2 separate regions of the Homo sapiens genome follow, and region 2 is linked to region 1. Evidence: promoter capture Hi-C in human tissues and cell types (Jung and others, 2019). All regions are on one chromosome and are shown on one strand. The core of a region is centred on a gene start or on the middle of the fragment in contact, and the rest is flanking DNA. Distances in the headings are between cores, read along the strand shown. Region 1 overlaps ARIH2 (ariadne RBR E3 ubiquitin protein ligase 2). Region 2 holds the start of SLC26A6 (solute carrier family 26 member 6).

Region 1 (4,394 bases), core at 705-3,204:
GGAAAAGGCCAACAGTCCTACCTTGAGAGGAGTGGGAATGTGGTGCCCCCCACTGGCAAGATGGGGATACAAGAGGAAGAGCACAGAGTACCTGAACAGGTGCTGCAAAAGACATCATAGAGATCAAGAGGGGGTCATTAAGGCAGAAGGAAGTTAAGTGTCTGATTTCTGTCAGCAAGATAAGGTATGAGAAATGTTTGAATTTGGCAACAAGGGAGTTTATATTGCCTGGTATATGTGCATAAAGAAAGAATATCTTAGTATTTCTACTGTCAGCAATTTTTTTTTTTTTAAACGCAGTCTCGTTCTTGTCACCCAAGCTAGAGTGCAGTGGCGCGATCTTGGCTCACTGCAACCTCTGCTTCTCGAGTTCAACCGATTCTCATACTTCAGCTTCCCAAGTAGCTGGGATTACAGGTGCCCACCACTATGCCCGGCTAATTTTTATATTTTTAGTAGAGACAGGGTTTCACTATGTTGGCCAGGCTGATCTCAAACTCCCGACCTCAGGTGACCTGCCCGCCTCGGCCTCCCAAAGTGCTGGCATTACAGGTGTAAGCCACCGCGCCTGGCCAGCAATTCTGAGTAGATTGAAATTCATCAATTGAAATCAACATCTTATCAAATTATGAGCCAAACTGAATTAAAATCAGGAATAATCTGTGAATTTTTAATTTATGATTTTGGCAGTTAGACCCCATAAGCTTTGAAAAGTATTATAGTTATTAAACATGATTATTCATTTTCTTTTTTTTATTTTTTATTTTAGACGGAGTCTCGCTCTGTCTCCCAGGCTGGAGGGCAGTGGTGCGACCTCGGCTCACTGCAAGCTCCGCCTCCCGGGTTCACGCCATTCTCCTGCCTCAGCCTCCTGAGTAGCTGGAACTACAGGTGCCTCACAACGCCCGGCTAATTATTTGTATTTTTAGTAGAGACGGGGTTTCACCGTGTCAGCCAGGATGGTCTCGATCTCCTGATCTCATGATCCGCCCACCTGGCCTCCCAAAGTGCTGGGATTACAGGTGTGAGCCACCACGCCCAGCCATTATTCATTTTCTTGAAACAGTGTCTTGCTGAGTCACCCCGGCTGGAGCGTAGTGGCGTGATCATGGCTCACTGCAGCCTCTACCTCCTGGGCTCAAGCGATCCTCCTACCTTAGCCTCCTGAGTAGCTGGGACTACAGGCACATGCCACCATGCCCAGCTAATTAAAAAAAAAATGTTTTGGCTGGGCGTGGTGGCTCACACCTGTAATCCCAGCACTTTGGGAGGCCGAAGCGGGTGGATCACCTGAGGTCTGGAGTTTGAGACCAGCCTGGCCAACATGGTGAAACACTCTCTACTAAAATACAAAAATTAGCCGGGAGTGGTGGCAGGTGCCTGTAATCACCGCTACTTGGGAGGCCGAGACAGGAGAATCGCTTGAACCTGGGAGGCGGAGGTTGCAGTGAACCAAGATCGCGCCATTGCATTCCAGCGTGGGGACAGGAGCGAGACTTTGTCGCAAAAAAAAGAAAAGGCCGGGCTTGGTGGCTCACGCCTGTAATCCGAGCACTTTGGGAGGCCGAGGCAGGCGGATCACAAGGTCAGGAGATCGAGACCATCCTGGCTAACACTGTGAAACCCCCGTCTCTACTAAGGCATCGTGGTGGGCACCTGTAGTCCCAGCTACTCAGGAGGCTGAGGCAGGAGAATGGCGTGAACCCGGGAGGCAGAGCTTGCAGTGAGCCAGGATCGCACTACTGCACTCCAGTCGGAGCAACAGAGTGAGACTCTGTCTCAAAAAAAAAAAAAAGTTTTTTTCTACGTATAGGATCTCACTATTTGCCCAGGCTGGTCTCAAACTTCTGAATTCAAGTAATCCTGCCACCTTGGCATCCCAAAGTGCTGAGATTACAGGCTTGAGCCACCACACCCAGCCTGTAAGTATTCTTTACTCATGGTTTTGTGAATGTACAAAATGACTGTCAAAGAGATTCCACCATCTTAGGGTTTGCTCTTTAAACAGGGATGAGATTTCCTCTGGGGAATAGTGGAAATGAATTGGAGAATGGGTTTGCTGGAAACAGTAACCTAATGAATGGTACCCTTTTTGGCCCTTGATATGGAGGGAACAATAGATACCTTTTTTATCTCTGATTAGAGACTCAGATTACTCAGTAATTATCTTGAGACTCCTTTTGGACAAGAAACTTTCTAGTTTTTAATTTCTAGTTTTTTCCTCAGTTAATGTTTCTAGAAATAGAAAAAGCATTCATAGTGCCGGGTGTGGTGGCTCATGCCCATAATCCCCACACTTTGGGAGGCCGAGGCAGGATGATCACTTGAGGTCAGGAGTTCGAGACCAGCCTGGCCAACATGGTGAAATCCCATCTCTAGTAAAAATACCAAAAATAGCTGGGCGTGGTGTTGAGTGCCTGTAATCCCAGCTACTTGGGAGGCTGAGGCAGGAGAATCACTTGAACCCGAGAAGCAGAGGTTGCAGTGAGCCAGCGTCGCGCCACTGTACTCTAGCCTGGGCGACAGAATGACACTCCATCTCAACAGAAACGAAAAAGAAAAAGCATTCATAAATAAATAGGACTTTTAATCCTCTGGTTACATGTTGATCTAATAGAACTGCAAGTTTCTTCTGAACACCACATTGGTCACATGTGTTCCTTCTAAGTCATTAGTCTTTTTTTTTTTTTGGCTTACATTGGTTGTTTACTACCCTGGATCCATTTTTCTTTTGGAAAAGATTTGGCCTTTTCTTTATAAGTTGTCTTGATAATACTTAATCCTAACTACCAACAGGTTGTTAGCTCCTTCATTACAACAGCCCAGCAAGAGCTCTTCTTGATTCTACTGAAAGGTTTTCTCTTCACAATTGAACAAATTATAAAGGGTAACAAGGGGACAGGGGGTGAAGGACTCAGTTATGAAAGTGTTGACTGTGATAGATTCTAAATGGATTGTTGAGCTCTTTCAAGCATTAAAGACTAATGGTGTGAATACTAGTTCGTTCCTTAGAAAGCTCAGCTGTTTGTACTCAGACAGATTTTTACCTTTAATCTGGCTTAATATTGTTTAGAAGATTTGTTTTGGCCCTCCTGCCAGGAGGCCAAGATGGCTCAAGGTGGCCACTGCTTCCTCTGGAAAACTGCTGGGGAGTTGAGATGGGGGTTCAGTCAGTTCTCTCTTGTGACCCAAATCAGGGAGAAGGTAGCCTCCTTGCTGAGACTACCTTTTAGAATATATTATTCTAGAGTATCATTTTCTCACTGTTTTTCTCCATCTCTGTGCTGCTTTTGCTCAGAGGACTCTGGGGAATCTGGCTTTCCTGTAGATCCTTCCTGGTGTCCATTACTGGATGAGGTGCAGTGACACTACATTTTCCCTTAATTAGTGGTCTCAGAATCTCATCAGGTTTGTAGTAGATTTTTGAGAGAGAGAGTCTCCAATCTTCTGTGTACTATCAACCTAATATGTGTAATTATCTCCTTTACTTTTTTTTTTTTTGAGACGGAGTCTCACTCTGTCACCGAGGCTGGAGTGCAGTGGTACCATGTCGGCTCACTGCAACCTCCATCTCCTGGGTTCAAGCAATTCTACTGCCTCAGCCTCCCGAATACCTGGGATTACAGGCGCCCGCCACAACACCCAGCTAATTTTTATATTTTTAGTAGAGACGGGGTTTCACCGTGTTGGCCAGGCTGGTCTCGAACTCCTGACCTCAGGTGATCCGCCTGCCTCTGCCTCCCAAAGTGCTGGGGTTACAGACGTGAGCCACTGCGCCCGGCACTTTTTTTTTTTTTTTTTTTTTTTTTTTTTTTTTTAAGAGACAGGGTTTTGCTGTGTTGCCAGGCTGGCTGTGGTGTTGAACTCCTGGGCTAAGCAATTCTCCCGCCTCAGCCTCCTGAGTAGCTGGGACCACAGGCATGAACCACTGTGCCTGGCAGTCACCCCCACCTTGATGTGGGGATCCCAGTAGTGTCTCTTACAGAAGGCTGCTGGGAGATGCATACAGCTGACGTGTGTGTGTGTGTGTGTGTGTGTGTGTATTTATTTTTTATTTTTTTGAGATGGAGTTTTGCTCTATCACCCAGGCTGGAGTGCAGTGGCACGATCTCGGCTCACTGCAACCTCTGCCTCCCGGGTTCAAGCGATTCTCCTGCCTCAGCCTCCTGATTTCCCAAGTAGCTGGGATTACAGGCGCCCGCCACTACGCCCAGCTAATTCTTGTATTTTTATTAGAGACGGGGTTTCACCATGTTGGCCACAACTTAGCTGGTCTCAAACTCCTGACGTCAAGTGATCTGCCCGCCTCGGCCTCCCAAAGTGCTGGGATTATAGGCACGAGCCACTGTGCCTGGCCTATCCTATACGTATTGATGTCCTCTTGGCTGTTGCCA
Region 2 (4,862 bases), core at 1,175-3,674, 320 kb before region 1:
AGAGGCCAAACACGGGGGGCAATCCAGCCAGGAGGGCGTAGGCCAAGCCTAGGGGTAGAATGGTAGCAGTGCAGGCCTGGAGAGCAGATCTTGAAACGATAAGGGAATCCCAGCCCTGGGTTAGGTGCCATAGTTCCAAGGTAGAGGTCATGGCCCCAGTTTTGGGCATCACAGACCACAGGGTTTCCAGGCCGACGCACTGAAGGTGGCTCACCCTGCGGAAGCTGCATGATGGCCACACTCAGGCCGGATAACAGGTCACCCAGGAGCCAGTCACGCACAGGATACCGGGGTAACCAGACCAAAACCGGGAGGTGTTGGAGCAGAAGGGCATAGGCCCGAGCACGGGAGCACCTAGGGACATGATATGAGGGGTAGGTGTCAGGAACAGGGGCTACCTGGGCCCCGCCAGCGCCCCCAGGCCCCAATCTTGGCCTTACTGCAACCAGGTCCGCCACTGGTGGGTCCTAGGTGCTGAGCCCCAGCGCCCCAGCTCCTCCAAATGCTCCTGGTTCAGCAGCGGCCGTTCCATGTGGTAGTCTCGCCTCCGCAGGTCCATTGCTTGTGTTGCAGACAGCAGTGCCTGTGTGTCCCTCGGTCTGGGGTGGCAAGACCAGAGAGACACAGTGAAGGCATCCCTGGCCCAACCTCCCCTACACCTCCACCTAGGACCAGAGAGTTACCTACCTGATTTTTCCAGGCCCTAAGATCAAGGTACAGTATTCCAGCCCCCAGCTGGCATCTGTGGGCCACATGTCCAAACTCAGACAGGGGCAGTACCTGAACTTTGGCTGGTGAGAAAGCCTCTTTCTAGGACAAAGTCCCCCAAGTAGGGACTGCAGGATGAGCACTAGCTATACCTCCAGCCGAGATGTGGCAGCCCAGTGCTGAGTGTTCTACCAGTCCAGGTCCCAGGCTGCTCCCTCCCCCACCCAGTCCCTCTCCAGTCCCCAGGTCCTCCTCCAGCTGCCCCGGGAGCCCACTGCTGGCTGAGAGCACACTCAGGGAAGGGGTCCAGCAAACCAGGGGTCCAGCTCCTCAAGCAACTCCTTTCCCAAGCCTCAGGCCTCAGATGAGACCCTCCCCTCTAAGGGAAGGAAAGTGTTGGAGCCAAGCTTGCCCCTGGGCCTCCAGCCCCAGGGTCCAGGTTGTAGACGGCTCAGGCCTGTTATGGGGAAGCCAAGGACTGGCTCTCACCTGAGAAGGAGCTTGCTCTTGGAGTGGCAATCTCTCACCTAGAGGGAGAGGCTCCCACATGGAAAGGGAAGTACCCACTTGAAGTGGGGGAAAGAGCTCACCTGGGAATAGAAGCTTTCAAGGGGAATCTCACCTAGAGGGATCTCTGACCTACCAGGGAATCTTTATCAGCCTGGCAAGTTCTGATACAGGGGGAATCTTCCCTCTGCCCAGAGGCACCTACTTGAAGTCAGAGAAAGATCTCACATGGGAAGAAAAGACCTAGAGGGAGAGGGTTCTCACCTGGGGGGTACTCTCCCATAGAGAAAGCTCTGACCTCGGGCGAGGCTCCCACGTGGAATGGGGAAAAGCTGTCACCTGGGAATAGATCTCACAGAAGGATCTTACCTGGGGGAAAACTCTAGCCTGTTGGGGAAGCTTTCACCAGTCAGGAAAGTTCTGATCTAGGAAAAGCCCTGACCTGGGGAGAGGATCCCATTTGAGGGACAGGAACTCACCTGGGAAGCGCCTCTAACCTGGCTGTACTGTTGGAGGAGTGTGGAGTGGGTGCAAGGAAGATCCTCAGAGACTCTTGGGACCGCTATCTCAAGGAGATCGTAGAGCCCCCTCTCCTTTCCTACGTGAGTCACTCAGGTCTTCTTAAAGGGCTCCCTCCCCCGACAACTTGGGACCCGCGTTTGGAGGGCGGAGCCTTGATCATTGGCCCCTCCCTGTAGGAAGGCAACTGGGGCCAGAAAGGCCGGAGCGCTCACTCCGGGATCAGTGGAGCTGGGTGGACTCGGGACTCAGCTGAAAGCAGCTAGTCCACGGGCCGCTGCCAGGGACTCCCGTGCCCCACGCACCCCCGCCGGCACATCTCCTGGCCGGGCTCCTCCGCACGCAGCTGCCTCCCTGTGGCCCGGGATGGCCCTCGGGCGTCACACCAGCGGCTTTCCGCACAGCCCAAGGGACTGGGGTCGCGCCGGCTCCCGCCCCCACCCCTTGCTGCAGAGGGGCAGCCGCCTGCAGAAAATCAGCAGAGGTAAACCGAGGCGTCGCAAGCGGAGAATGCCTGCTCCAGCGAGGCGTCGCAAGCGGAGAATGCCTGCTCCAGCGAGGCGCTCGCGCGGGGCCACCGGGAATGTGCGCTGAACTCACCCCGACGCATCCGCCAGCCCCATGGCTCGCAAGTTGTCCGGTGCGGGCTGCTCCTGCTGCTCGAGCTAGAGGCCGCTACGCTCCGGAAGGCGGCGCCGGGACCGGGTGAGGCCAGCTGCGCTCTCCCGGGGGCTAATCCCGGGGCAGGACGGGGAGGCTTGGGCCAATCAGCGCGCTGGGGCGGGGCCTAAGTGGCGCGCGCCGGGCGGGGAGAGACTGGAGAAGGAGGATTTAACCGCTTCCTCCCCGGCGACCTGGCCTATGAGGCCTCTCGCTGCTCGCCCGGCCCTCTGCCCGGAGCTGGATGGGACTGCAGAACTGGAACTAAGCACCCGCGCCGGGCTGGCCGCAGTCGCGCCCCCAGGCCCTGAGTAGGTTGGAGCTGATCCCAGGTCCTGGCTCGGCGGAAGGTGCTCACGGAGTGGGAAAAGGAAACTCCACTGGCCGGTGACCCCAGCCTTAACTCGTAGGGGATCCAGGTCTGTGGGGCCTCTCTTGCCTTCAGCTGAGAGCGCCACCCGCAGGCTTTCTGCGACTACGCATCTCTTTGAGACCCGGAGCCAACGGTCCCCAAGTCCTCCCCTTTAACTCTGGCCACCCAGGCCAGAAATGGTTGGAGGATCCCCTCCGCTGCACTAAGCACAGCCCGGACGTAGCTCCCAGAAGGTTACTGCGCGGGCCGCCGAGGAGAATGGTGGGGGTCAGTGCTGTTGGGTGGGCGTCAGTGCTGTTGGGTGGGCAAGGCAGGAACTGCAAGAGCAGTTCCTCAGGTTGGTTTCACCGCAGGTGAGGGCAAAAAATGCCGGGTCAGGGCTGCAGACCCTGAAGAATTAGGAAGTCCTGTTGCCGTTGCCTTGACCAGCGGGGAGGTTTTCCTTAGCACCTTATTTTCAGCACCTGTGCTCCAACATCAGGCCCCAATTACAAAGTGAGGGGCCAGATTTCAAGGTGAAAGAGATCTGCCATGAAATGGGCTAAAAATAGCTGGATATTCTTGGGAGGGGCTCAGATTCCTCCCAAAGGTCAGTCTGGCTTGAATCATTCACAGCTTCCATCCTACCTCCCCAGCCCCCAACAGGAAAAGGCAACAACTGTTTTCTATAGAAGTTTATTCCCAAAACAGAGCGCGGCTTCACGGAACAATTTACACAGACAGGAAAGAGGGCCGCTGGGCTGGAGGAGGGGAACCCCAGAGAGGGGCATCTACGAAACCTAGGACATAGTAAAGACACCCTCCCACCCCCAGCAGGCCACTCAGCCCTTCAAGAGCTGGGGTCCTTCTCGGTAAGGAGAGTTTGGGTCCTGGCTGGTGGGATTTAGCTCCAGTCAGGGAAGTAGAATTTCTAATCTCCCAGGAAGCTGCTTCCCAAGAGTATGCATGGGGTGGTGGGTGAGGAGGTGTCTGCACAGACCACCCCCCAGCCCTGCACAGCCACTCTCCCCCGTGGTTAGAGGACGCCTACTCTCAAGGTCTTCTGGATCTGCTGTTAAACGGGACTCAAGGCTGACCTTCGGCCTGGGAGACCTGGGGGTTAGAAAACCCCTCAAGATGGCCAGGTCAGGGTCCTCACAGGTGGGTCCTCCAAGTCCCTCTCCCACTTTCCCTACCTTTCACTTGGAAACAAAGGAAAAAAAATTATCTACTGTAAACAAAGTGTAAAACTCAAAGTTTTGAGTTGTAAACAAAGTAAAAACATTTTTTGAATCTGGACTTGTAAACAGTAACAAAATTTTAAAGTCTTCAGTTCTGGACAGCAGACAAAATAGCAAAAGTAAGAGTTTTGTGAACAGGGTCGTAACAGTCATTTTTCCCTTTTTAAGGGAATAAAGGAGGAGTGGAACGGAGTCACTTCCTGCAGCCCAGGTGCCTAGGGCCACGGAGGATCCTGTAAACATAGGAGGCAGTGGCACCTACATTCTGGGTCTTGAATTCCCTTGTTTCTGCTCCCTTTGCTCACCTTCCCACCCTACCCTTCGGAATCAATTCAAGCAGGGGGCAGTGTCAGGGAATCAAATGGCACCACAGACAACTTTTGCTTGCTGCAGGGGCAGGTGAATGACCCCTCCACCGACCCTCTGCAGGAATGTCTGACTAGAGGCCCGAGCCCCTCCCCGTGGGAGACAGGGAAGCCTTGCTCTGTAAACACGACATCAGCTGCTCCACCAGCACCCCACAGCATCAGTCCTAGGTCATAAGGCAGTAAGTGGCAGGGACTCCACATAATAAACACACACATCCACCAGGAGGGGCGGTATGAGCAAGCCCCCATGAGGAAGTCAGAGGACCCCTGTTTCCAAGACCAACCCCCAGCCCCAGAAGTTTGGCCTTTGGAGCATTCAATAAAAAGCAAAGAACAATTCTGTACTTTGGGCCCCTGACGATACTCAGATCAACTTGGGGGTGGAATAGGGGGAGGAAGGCATGTGTCCCACCCATCTGAGTCCACCCCAGGAAGGAGAGAGAGATGAGCATAGGGTTTGCTCAGGACCCAAATGGGGTCAAACTGCATCTCTCCCTCTATCTCCCT

Evidence for each region. The method cuts DNA at HindIII sites, captures the fragments that hold promoters and counts their contacts. A contact is called where the count stands out against the background at its distance.
Region 2: a contact is called between the fragment with the promoter of SLC26A6 here and a fragment that was not itself captured in region 1, in 1 of the 25 tissues and cell types used here (dorsolateral prefrontal cortex).

What each region holds. Positions count from the first base shown.
Region 1 is chr3:48,952,656-48,957,049 of GRCh38, forward strand. The region is part of intron 3 of ARIH2 (ariadne RBR E3 ubiquitin protein ligase 2); the gene reads left to right. Among named protein-coding and RNA genes, the nearest start is that of P4HTM, 35 kb to the right of the region's middle. The HindIII fragment of the contact is 8,935 bases long and covers 1-4,394 here.
Region 2 is chr3:48,633,037-48,637,898 of GRCh38, forward strand. It overlaps SLC26A6 (solute carrier family 26 member 6), which reads right to left and starts at 2,425. Exons shown (of 21, transcript NM_022911.3): 1 at 2,335-2,425; 2 at 441-599; 3 at 215-354; 4 at 1-48. The coding sequence starts at 2,357. It overlaps CELSR3 (cadherin EGF LAG seven-pass G-type receptor 3), which reads right to left. Exons shown (of 35, transcript NM_001407.3): 35 at 3,427-4,862. MIR6824 (microRNA 6824) reads right to left here and starts at 662; the gene lies at 600-662. RefSeq lists silencers at 1,864-1,963, 2,354-2,633. The HindIII fragment of the contact is 9,287 bases long and covers 1,463-4,862 here.